Linked DNA regions of Homo sapiens: regions 2 and 3 are each linked to region 1. Evidence: promoter capture Hi-C in human tissues and cell types (Jung and others, 2019). All regions are on one chromosome and are shown on one strand. Each heading gives the region's core, a stretch centred on a gene start or on the middle of the fragment in contact. The rest is flanking DNA. Distances are from core to core; before and after follow the strand shown. Region 1 holds the start of TMEM132B (transmembrane protein 132B). Region 2 has its middle 13 kb from the start of LINC00944. Region 3 has its middle 77 kb from the start of LINC02824.

Region 1 (3,258 bases), core at 222-2,721:
GATCTATCATAATAATGGCCATGATGATGAGAATGATAATGTTGACACTGACTCCTTTAAATGAGTTCCGACTTCCTAGGTCAGGGGCTTTGTATGTGTTATTGGGGACACCAGGTGATGTGCAATGCCTTCCATCTCTCAGATGAGAAAACTGAGGCTCAGGGAGGAATAAGGGACTCGCCCCAGCTTGCACAGCTAAGGAGCGGCAGAGCTGGGATTCTCAGCCAAGACTCCATGACTCCAGAGCCTTCCCCAAATCTGTCTTTTCATCACCCCACGCTGCCTTATTGACCATTTTCAAAGAGTTTGACCCACTTTTTCATGGAAAACTGAGATGGCAGAGCAAGTGGCTGGTGTGGTGGGGGCTGGGGCGGAGCCAGGACTCCAAGCCACCCTCCCAGGTGGGCAACCCCCCATATCCCCTGTCCTCCCAGCGTGGTGGGGAAGCTTGAAGGCATCTGAGCGCTGCTGGAGGCTCCCCCACATGCTCCCAGCATGACTCATTCATTCGGCTTAGCCCCCCGTGGCTTTGCCCTGGTTGGGGGTGGGGCGCCCAGGAGGATCAGTGGTTTCTGGGATAATAGGTACTGGGGCTCCGTGTGACCTGTGACCTCCCTCCGCACTCTGGCTGCGTCCCTGCCCCTGGATGGAAGAATTCGACCACCTAGTACCCGGCCCTGCGCAACACCTCCGCTCCGTCACTGCCTGACCCTGCGCTGGGAACTCATTCCCGGGACCGCCAGGGAATCTGCCCTTCCCAGGAGAACTCCTGGCTGCCTCCGCGTGCTCCTAGGGCCTGCGCGAAATGGGAAGGCGCATCCTCTAGCCTGGGTAAATAAGGGACCCTGCCTCACCCGGGTGGCCATCCCCAGGCCGCCTTCGCTGTGTTTCAGGTCACCGCACCCAGCCTGCGCACCCCTAGCCCCCATCCCGGTGCCGTGCAGAGGCTCTGCACACAGCCTCGGCCTCCCGGAGGCCCTCCCCTCTCTCCTCTCCCCTCTCCCACAGGCACTCCCTAGCTGTGCCACATTTAACCCGGGACCTCCTGTCCGCGCTCAGTCTTGCAGTCTCTGGCCCCGGCAGACACCACCTCTCCAGAGGTCGCTGCCCCATCCCGGTGACCCTCCGCTGGCCTCCTCACCCCTCGACCTTGGCAACTCCTACCGCTGCGCCCCAAGACGCCGGATCTAGCTGGGCATCCCCTCTCTGCATTGCGCACCCCTCCCGCAGCCCCTGTACCCGCGAGCGCCCGCGACCCCCGGCGGGCTCCCGGAGCCTCCCGGCCGGGCGCCCTCCCCCGAACCGCCGAGCAGTGGCGCGTCCCGCCGCCTACTGGCCGGGCTGCCGCCTGTGCCCCGGCTCCCGGGCGGCCCCTCCCCCGGCCGCGGCCCCGCCCTCCGCTCCTCTCCTCCTCCTCCTCCTCCTACTCCTCCTCCTCCTCCTCCTCCCCCCGGCGCTCGCTCGCTCGCTCACTCTCTCGCTGGCTCGAGGGGCGGCCGGCAGATGGCGATGGCAGAGGCGGCGGCGGCGGCGGCGGCGCGACCGGGATGGGACGGGCGCTGGGGCGCAGGAGCCGCGGCGGCGGCGGCGGCGGGGGCCGCGCAACTCGGGCCAACTGCGGGGCAGCCGGCCAGGGCGCGGGGCGCTGAGCCTCGGCCGCCCCAGCTCCCCAGCCACGCACGGCCGAGCCCAGGAGAGCGCGCAGAGGCGCAGCCGAGGAAGCGCCGCCAGCGCCGGCGCATGCGTCTGGGGAGGAGCGGCGCGCTGGGAGCGAGCCATGCCCGGCGCCCGGGCGTAGCCGCCGGGGGCTGCTCCGGGAGCCGCGGGCCGGGCCGGGCGCGCGAGAGGAGCAGCCCCGCGCCGCACCCACCGCGCGCCGAGGACCATGCCGCCCCCGGGCCGGGCGCCGCCGCTCGGGCTCCTGCTGGCGCTGACTGCGCTCCAGTGCCCAGGTAACGCGTCCCCGGACCCCATCCCCGACCCCGGCCGAGGCGCACAAAGTTGGGTGAACGGGCGGCTACCTCCTTCTCAAGTCCCTGGCAGCGCGCATCTCCCGGACTTGGACAGACCTGGGGAGACCCTGGGAACCCAGGAGCCCCCGGCGCGTTCCCCTTTGCCTAGCGCCTGGGGAGAGCCCGCCTGCCTTCTCCCCCAAACCCTTAGCTTCCTTGCGGATCCTTTCGGGACGCACGGGGGCCACAGACCGGGGCACTCAGCCTCTCGAGGCGGGTGGGGACGCGACTGCAGGAATCGAGCCCCCTCCCCGCCCTGCCTTGGGCCAAATCCCCCCCAGGTCCCAGTTCCTCCAGGGGTTTTGCTGGGCGGGGGCGTCGACGCAGCCCTTCTCCAGTGTCTTGCTGCCCGCGGTCGCACAGTGGTGCGTTCCCGGGACACCTGCGGGCCCCGGAGATGTCTCGGCCGGCGCTGTCTGGCTTGTCCGCAGCCCCTCCCCACGCCCCGCGGCCCTCCCCTGCTTTCACACTGCCCTCCCCAAGCTACCCACCCTCGCCAAATGGCCTCCTCTTGGCCAAAGAGCAGCCCGCTGCGCGCCTCCTGCAAACGCGGTCTACTCCAGCGCCCTGACCCCAAGGCGGGCGGGAGAGGGTAGCCGCGGCCAAGCAGTCCAGGACGCGCCGGGGAGCCTGGAACGCGGTGCTGTCCAGAGCCATTGCCTGGGCACCGGGGAGCTGGACTCCCTGCTGAACCAGCTCAGCTGTCGCCCAATCCTAGTGAGTGGGAAAAGCAAAATAGTCAGGTATTGTCTGTCTTCGCTGGAGTTTGGAAAGCTTTCTACCCACCTTGGTGTGGCTACATGTTGGTTCTATAGAAAGCGTATCCTAAAATGACAATTCCTCCCCTCCCCCCACCCCATGCAAGCAGTGGAGAAAATCCTAAAGGCTCAGATGAACCCCGGGAACAGTCACGAGCAGCCTTCATGTGCTTTTGAAATCTCAGTTCTCCAAACCTTTTAAAATCAAGACCCATGATTTGGGAACAGGTAGCTTTTGCTTTAGAAAATCTCTCCCCATTTCCTTAACAAACAAATCGCACAGACAGGCAGAATGCAGTAGAAAAATACAACTATAACTTTTCGGCTTTCACTGTCTTGGTAAGGTTGCAGTTAGGAGCAAACCTGGCATGTCAACTTGATGTTCGATGTATTTTATTTGCATGGAAAAAGTCAGTGTCGGCTTCCTTTGAGATGCCCTTAAGTGACCCAAAATATTTACCAACACCTTCGACTTGAAGAAAACCTTC
Region 2 (3,258 bases), core at 204-2,703, 1.6 Mb after region 1:
ACAATTTTTTTTCATTTTTTACTATTAAAAAGAACATTACATTTTTATACTTTGCCCTTTCCCATGTGCCTAATGCAAGTTGTTTAAACAGGAAAAATACACTTCGGTAATGCTCAATTTACTGATTGCATCGTGAGAGCTCCCTGGAAACTATTAAGTTCTTCTATTTAAATCCTTCTTTCTTTGTAGGGGTTACTGAACTGGTTCCCCTAGACCCCTTGTTTTCTATGTCCTCAATTTGCCTGTACATCAAGACTGAATTCTCTAGTTAGTAAAGATGGGTTCATCGGAATATATCGTGGCATATGGCAGATGCAGCAACTTCCTAAACCTAGCAAACTGCTTCTGGGCAATCAGCTTGTCTCTGAGAATCTCCTGACCTCTTGAGGACTGGAAATGCTGCAAATGCAAATACAGTTAAATAGCTTCATTGGGCACCCACCAGCAGAGGGCGAAAGGGCCCCAGAGTCCATATAACCACGTGTGTTTCTGCTTCATGGGCCTGAAAATGACCAGATTTCTTCCCTTGAGCTTGGCTGAAGCTTCATTCACGACCAGGCTTAGGAGCTACATCTGAGAACAGAGTGATGGATCAGGCCCCAGCATCTAAAATGTAGGTGCTGGTCAGTCACAGGAATGATAAACCCATGGGATGTCTCGCGCTTAAATTCCTTTCGTCACACCTAGAAAATGTTCAGATTTCCTCTGTCTTGGTTTGTCTTCCAAAGCTGAAACGAAAGAATGGGGTACAAACCTAAATTACCCTAATGGGATCATTAAGAGTATGTGTTACTCATTCATAGGATGTTAATGGTAACTTCCCCCAATTCAAATCAATCTGGAAATACAAATATGACTTTCTTTGGAAATAGCTTCTTTGCTAATGTAATTAGTTCAGGGTCTTGAGATGAAATTATCCTGGCTTTAGGGTGATTCCTAAATTCAATGACTGGCACCCTAATAAGAAGAGGAGAGAACATATAGAGACATACAGAAAAGGCCAGGTGTGGTGGCTCATGCTTGTAATCCCAGCACTTTGGGAGGCTGAGGCGGGCGGATCACCTGAGGTCAGGAGTTCTAGACCAGCCTGACCAAAATGGAGAAACGATGTCTCTACTAAAAATACAAAATTAGCTGGGCGTGATAGCACATGCCTGTAATCCCAGCTACTTGGGAGGCTGAGGTAGGAGAATCTCTTGAACCCGGGAGGCGGAGGTTGTGGTGAGCCAAGACTGCACCATTGCACTACAGCCTGGGCAACAAGAGCGAAACTCTGTCAAAAAAAAAAAAAAAAAGACACACAGAAAAAAGAAGTCCAAGTGACAATGGAGGCAGAGATGGGAGTGACGATTCTAGGAGCCGGGAAACACCTGGAGCCCCAGCAGCTGGACAAGGCAAGGGAGGACCTTTCCTTAGAGGTTTCAGAGGGGGCCCCAAGGGTGGAGTCACAAAAGTGAGATTTACTTAGATTTCTATTTTCCCTTTAATTTGCTCAATTGGGATAATATTTTCTTGCCTGTGGATGAAAATAGGCAGATCCATGACTTTTTATGACAAAACACAGCCTCAATTTAAAAATGATTCACTAATCCCAATTCTGAGCTACAATCAAAGGACAGCATTCTTCTCTTCTCCCAGCTGAAACTCTTTTGGTAGAAGTAGGCACGGTAAGTCTTTCTTTTTGCCCCTCATCATTGGCCTCAAAGTTTTCTCTCCTGGCTTGGAGACTGAGGGTTCTGAGTTTGCAGAGCAGACACAGAGGAAGGGGAAGAGATGTTGGGAGGGACAGGAAAGATGAGGTCACAAACACAGGTGTCAGCTGGCATCTGTGTGCTCCCTGGCCTGGGAGGCACTGGGTGGGGTACTGTCTTTTTTATTTTTATTTTATTTTATTTTATTTTATTTTATTTTATTTTATTTTATTTATTTATTTATTTATTTAGACAGAGTTTCACTCTTTGTTGCCCAGGCTAGATTGCAGTGGTGCGATCTCAGCTCACTGAAACCTCCGCCTCCCAGGTTCAAGCGATTCTCCTGTCTCAGCTTCCTGAGTGGCTGGAATTACAGGCACCTGCCACTACGTCCAGCTGATTTTTGTATTTTTAGAAGAGATGGGGTTTCACTATGTTGGCCAGGCTGGTCTCAAACTCCTGACCTCAGTGATCTGCCTGCCTCAGCCTCCCAAAGTGCTGGGATTACAGGCGTGAGCCACCGAGCCTGGCATTTTTTTTTTTATTATTTTTTAAGGGATGCTTTCATGGGTTCCTTGGCAAACCTCAATTCCCCTTCCATGACTGATGATCTTCCACTCATGTGGCCCCAAAACTGTGTGACCACATCGTCTTCCCTGTTTAGCTGCTGGGCACCCCAAAGTCTACTTCCAATATCGTCTCTGTTTGAGGTCACCTTTCTGGGAATTTTTTCACGTGACATCAGCCAGGCTCCACTGACTTATTGTTTGATGTTCTAGCCTCTCCATGTGCAGCAGCAACTATCATCTCTCAGCTCTCAGAGGAGCTGAACTCCTCACCCGTCAGATCCCCCCAGAGTGAGTCAGGCCCTGGTTCAGTGTGTCTCCCACTGCAGGGAACACATATTGGGGTTTCCAGGTAGTCCTCCTGAAATTCTTTTTTCCTGAGCTGAGGAGAGAGAAGACACACTTCCCTTTCCCTCCACCCTGGGGCCTGGAATGCACAGGGCACCTGGAATTCTCTGTAGTCCATCCCCTTCCCAAGCTTTCCTATTAATTTCTAACTCATATCATTTTGTACCCTCAACCAGAGTAGGGGCTCTCCTTGTGGTCCAGCACATCGTTTGGACTTTAGCAGGTGTTGTATATTGGTCCCTTGGCCACAAATGCAGTTTTGTCCTCTGTTTACACAGGTAAAATTGCCAGGAGAATGTCCAGTATATGGGGGACAGAGTTAGAGGGAGCTATTATTCAGTTAGCGTTGAGTATCTGGGGACTTGACCCAGGAGAAACTCCTTGTGGAAGAGACCTCTGTCACAAACACTCAACCCTCCTGTGATAGTCATGATATGTTTTTGCAATGCTATCCCATGATCTAATTCACAGAGGTGGGCTCTCATTCAGAGTTCTTAGTGTTCTGGGGGCTTATTGGTTTGTGATTCCTAAGAATTGAGTTGCATGGAGGAGGAGGAGCACAGAGGAGGAAAGGGGAAGTTCCTGCAATCCTCAGGAGATGGAGCGGCCCAGGCACTGTGTTCCAGGATGGGAGGACACAGCGGCATTTGCAG
Region 3 (3,258 bases), core at 430-2,929, 1.4 Mb after region 1:
TGATGGGGAGGATGTCACTTTGGGGAGGAAGGATACAAATATGAATGCAAGGACAACGATATATAGAAATGAAATCTTCCTTACATTATATAGTTCAATTGACATTTGTAGTTCAGTCTTCATGATACCAGGTTGGCAGACATCCTGAGCCCTGCCCTGGGCCAGAGTACTAGAAAATCCAGAGTCCAGAAAGGTCCTGGGGTCTTATGAGTGGGGCTGCTGCTTCTTCCTTCTCATTTCACCGAGGTTCTTATTGCATTTTGATACTTCTCTTGGTATAGGGCAATACTTGTGAAACAAATATGTTGTATGAGGTGATAAACCACCATTGATCCAGGGTTTCTTCACCCAGATCAATTGTTTTAAACTATGGCTGGACTTTAGAATCCCACAGAAAACTTTGTCTATCTATCTATCTATCTATCTATCATATATCCTTTCTATCTATTGAATCTCTATTATTCTATGTATCATTCTATTATCTATATCTATCTATCTATCTGTCTGTCTATCTATCTATCTATCTGTCTATCTATCTATCTATCTATCTATCTATCTATCTATCTATCTATCTATCTATCTATCATCTCTGTCTCTCTTGATGCCTGTACCTCATGCCAGACCAATTGAATCAGTCTATCTAAGGGCTGTATTGGGTCTGTGTCTCCACTTTGTGATGGCTCCCCTGATTATTCTAATGTATAGACAGAGCCAGAGCCTCCAGGTTTTACGTGGCCTGAAGATTATACAATTTTAGAAACCCCCTTTAAGAAATATAATACAAAATTTACAAATAAAAATTAGGTACAAATGGTTGGATATAAAAATGTTCTAGGAATAAATGCTCGGTGCCACAAAGTGAAAACAACACTCAGGCAAAAGTTTTCTCAGCAAGGCAATTTACTTCTGCAGAAGTGTGCCACTCACGTCAGTCAAGATCACAAGAGCACAGGGAACAAAGGAGAGCAGCAAGCTTTTATCTCTGACGGTAGTCCCTACCTTTGTGTCACTCCCCAATGGGCTGGGGTTGGACTGCACAATCTGAGCTGACCCGATTGGCTACTTGCAAATATTTTTCTAAATAAGGAAGGGAAATGGGATGTGAGGTACAGTGGTAAAGCATGTGAGACATGCAGTTTTGGGGGAACAATGGGTGCAGGAAACCAAGGGAACAGATGTGAGTTATTGATTAGAGCGCCTGGGAAGGGGGTAGGCTGTTTTACAGTAACTAGGGGCAAGGGGGAACAGGAAATGAGTTTGAGAACAAAGAACAAGGATGTTAGCAGGCTAAATCTTTGAAGAGAAACTCAGAGAAATTCATTGTATCTTACAATTCCTCCCTTTTAATTTTCTTACAATTCTTTCTCTTCAAACTTTTTAAACATGTCTTGGCTTTGCCATTCAACTTGATCTTCCAAAAAGAAAAGCTTACTTGAATAAGCTGGAGGAGAACTAAGTGCTGGTTGTACAATCCTTTGTATTAGCCCATGGATGCATGGTATAACACAGCAGCCAACAAGAATGAGTCCACCTATTGCAATTGCAAAAGAAATAAGAACTGAGGCTATGATTCCTTCCCATTTACTGAACCACATTCCCAGCCATCCTGAAATAGGGTCATTTACTCCAGAATTTTTAGCTAATTCATTGGATAAAGCAGTAAGTCCTTGTAAGGCCTTTGTTATGCTCCCTTTGGGGGCAGTGTTGTTTGGGATGAAGGTACAACATTGGGTTTTAATCATAGCACAAACCTCACCTTTTTTGGCTCTAGAGTTATCCTGTTTTCCCAAGCCATTTGGCTAGTGGGTCTTAATTGGTTGGCTATTCCTTTGATAGCACCCCTGGTGTAATTAATATACCACTGCTGATTATAATAGATGTAATTTATCCAAGCTACATTTTTATTCATAGTTACCTGTGGAAATATGGATTCAAATCCTGCAGCTATTTGGTCTTGGACTTTGAACCTGTCAGGCACTCCTCATGAGACTCCAATGGCATCTATGTAAACTTGCAAGTCAAAAGACCCATAAGGGGCTTCTCTTATTTTTCGGTGTTGTGGTTTTTCTTTTTCTGGTTGATGAAATGCCAGGGTGAAAGGGATAGCCAACTGGACAAGAGCACAAGTGCCGCTCCTGTTACGTGGCAGAGTGTCCAGTAAGGGTCCACTGAAATACCACCATACATCCGCTTGAGGATGACTAAGGGCAGACTGATGGGTAAGCTCTTGGAAGGGCCTAAGCTCACTGCATCCCATTAAGCTTCCAAGGAATGCCAAGTTCCCCCCACATCGTGAGAGATATGAGGTGAAATTGACTTTGGGAGATGGAAGCTGAATGGCCCTCAGGGGCTGACCCACAGGGTGTTGGACTTCGGGATATAGCAGAGAGAGAGCTTGGCATGATTTGTTGCCCCAGGTTGTGGAATCCTGGAAAAGAGCTGCCATACAGCCCATGCCTGGTCGATTGAAGGACCATCCTAGTGGAAAGGGGACAATCTGGGCCTCTGGTCTGCCATGCACACAAGCTTAACAATTGTTTTTGTTCCAAGTGCGGATGGAATATTGCATCCATTCCAACCAGGCATTTATATCTTGATATCCTGTTTCAATTGCCAGAGTTTGTCTTAGATTCTTCACTTTTACAATATTTACCTTGGCATTGTTGTTGTGCAGGGTAGAAGGTTTAGAAGGAGAAGGAGGGTCAGTAAAACATATTTTAAAGAAGCCTATAGGGTCCTATTGATTGGCCTCTGCTCCTAAGACATAAAAGCATTCTAAAAGGGGTGCAGGGGTGGTGGAGGTAAGGGTGTTAATAGAGATAGTTACTGGGTTACAATGGTCAAGTTGACAATTAGAGGGGGTGGCTCCTTTGGTAAGGCAGAGGTAAGATTTTAGGTCAGTACAGCCTTCTGCGGAGGTCCCGCCGTGTTCACTGGTAGTCAGGATGACATCTTCCCATTGAGAACATATCTCCCAACTTGGGGTGCCTTGATACCCCCGCGATGAGCAAGGCGTGGGGTCAGTGGCTTCTCTGAAGGGGCAGAGGTATTTTTCTAAAGTAGAGACATACCTTTGCCATTGTTCATTCTCTTCACAAGGCATAACAAGGCAAGTATTAAAGGCAATGATTTGGGATGAGTCTGACTTAGTTTAATTGATAGCAAGATTAGTAATAGAATGAGGAAAGAAGAAAGGGGAATAGAAGAGATAAAAGAGAGTTAAACTTTTCTTAACCTTAGTTTGAGGGGTTTTTCGTT

Evidence for each region. Contacts are between HindIII fragments. The study calls those that stand out against the background at their distance.
Region 2: a contact is called between a fragment that was not itself captured here and the fragment with the promoter of TMEM132B in region 1, in 1 of the 25 tissues and cell types used here (spleen).
Region 3: a fragment that was not itself captured here is called in contact with the fragment with the promoter of TMEM132B in region 1 in 2 of the 25 tissues and cell types used here (dorsolateral prefrontal cortex and mesenchymal stem cells).

What each region holds. Positions count from the first base shown.
Region 1 is chr12:125,184,915-125,188,172 of GRCh38, forward strand. It overlaps TMEM132B (transmembrane protein 132B), which reads left to right and starts at 1,472. Exons shown (of 9, transcript NM_001366854.1): 1 at 1,472-1,952. The coding sequence starts at 1,886. RefSeq lists an enhancer at 673-1,206 and a silencer at 1,255-1,464. The HindIII fragment of the contact is 11,061 bases long and covers 1-3,258 here.
Region 2 is chr12:126,784,070-126,787,327 of GRCh38, forward strand. No RefSeq gene overlaps it. Among named protein-coding and RNA genes, the nearest start is that of LINC00944, 13 kb to the left of the region's middle. The HindIII fragment of the contact is 4,921 bases long and covers 1-3,258 here.
Region 3 is chr12:126,612,102-126,615,359 of GRCh38, forward strand. No RefSeq gene overlaps it. Among named protein-coding and RNA genes, the nearest start is that of LINC02824, 77 kb to the right of the region's middle. The HindIII fragment of the contact is 3,086 bases long and covers 137-3,222 here.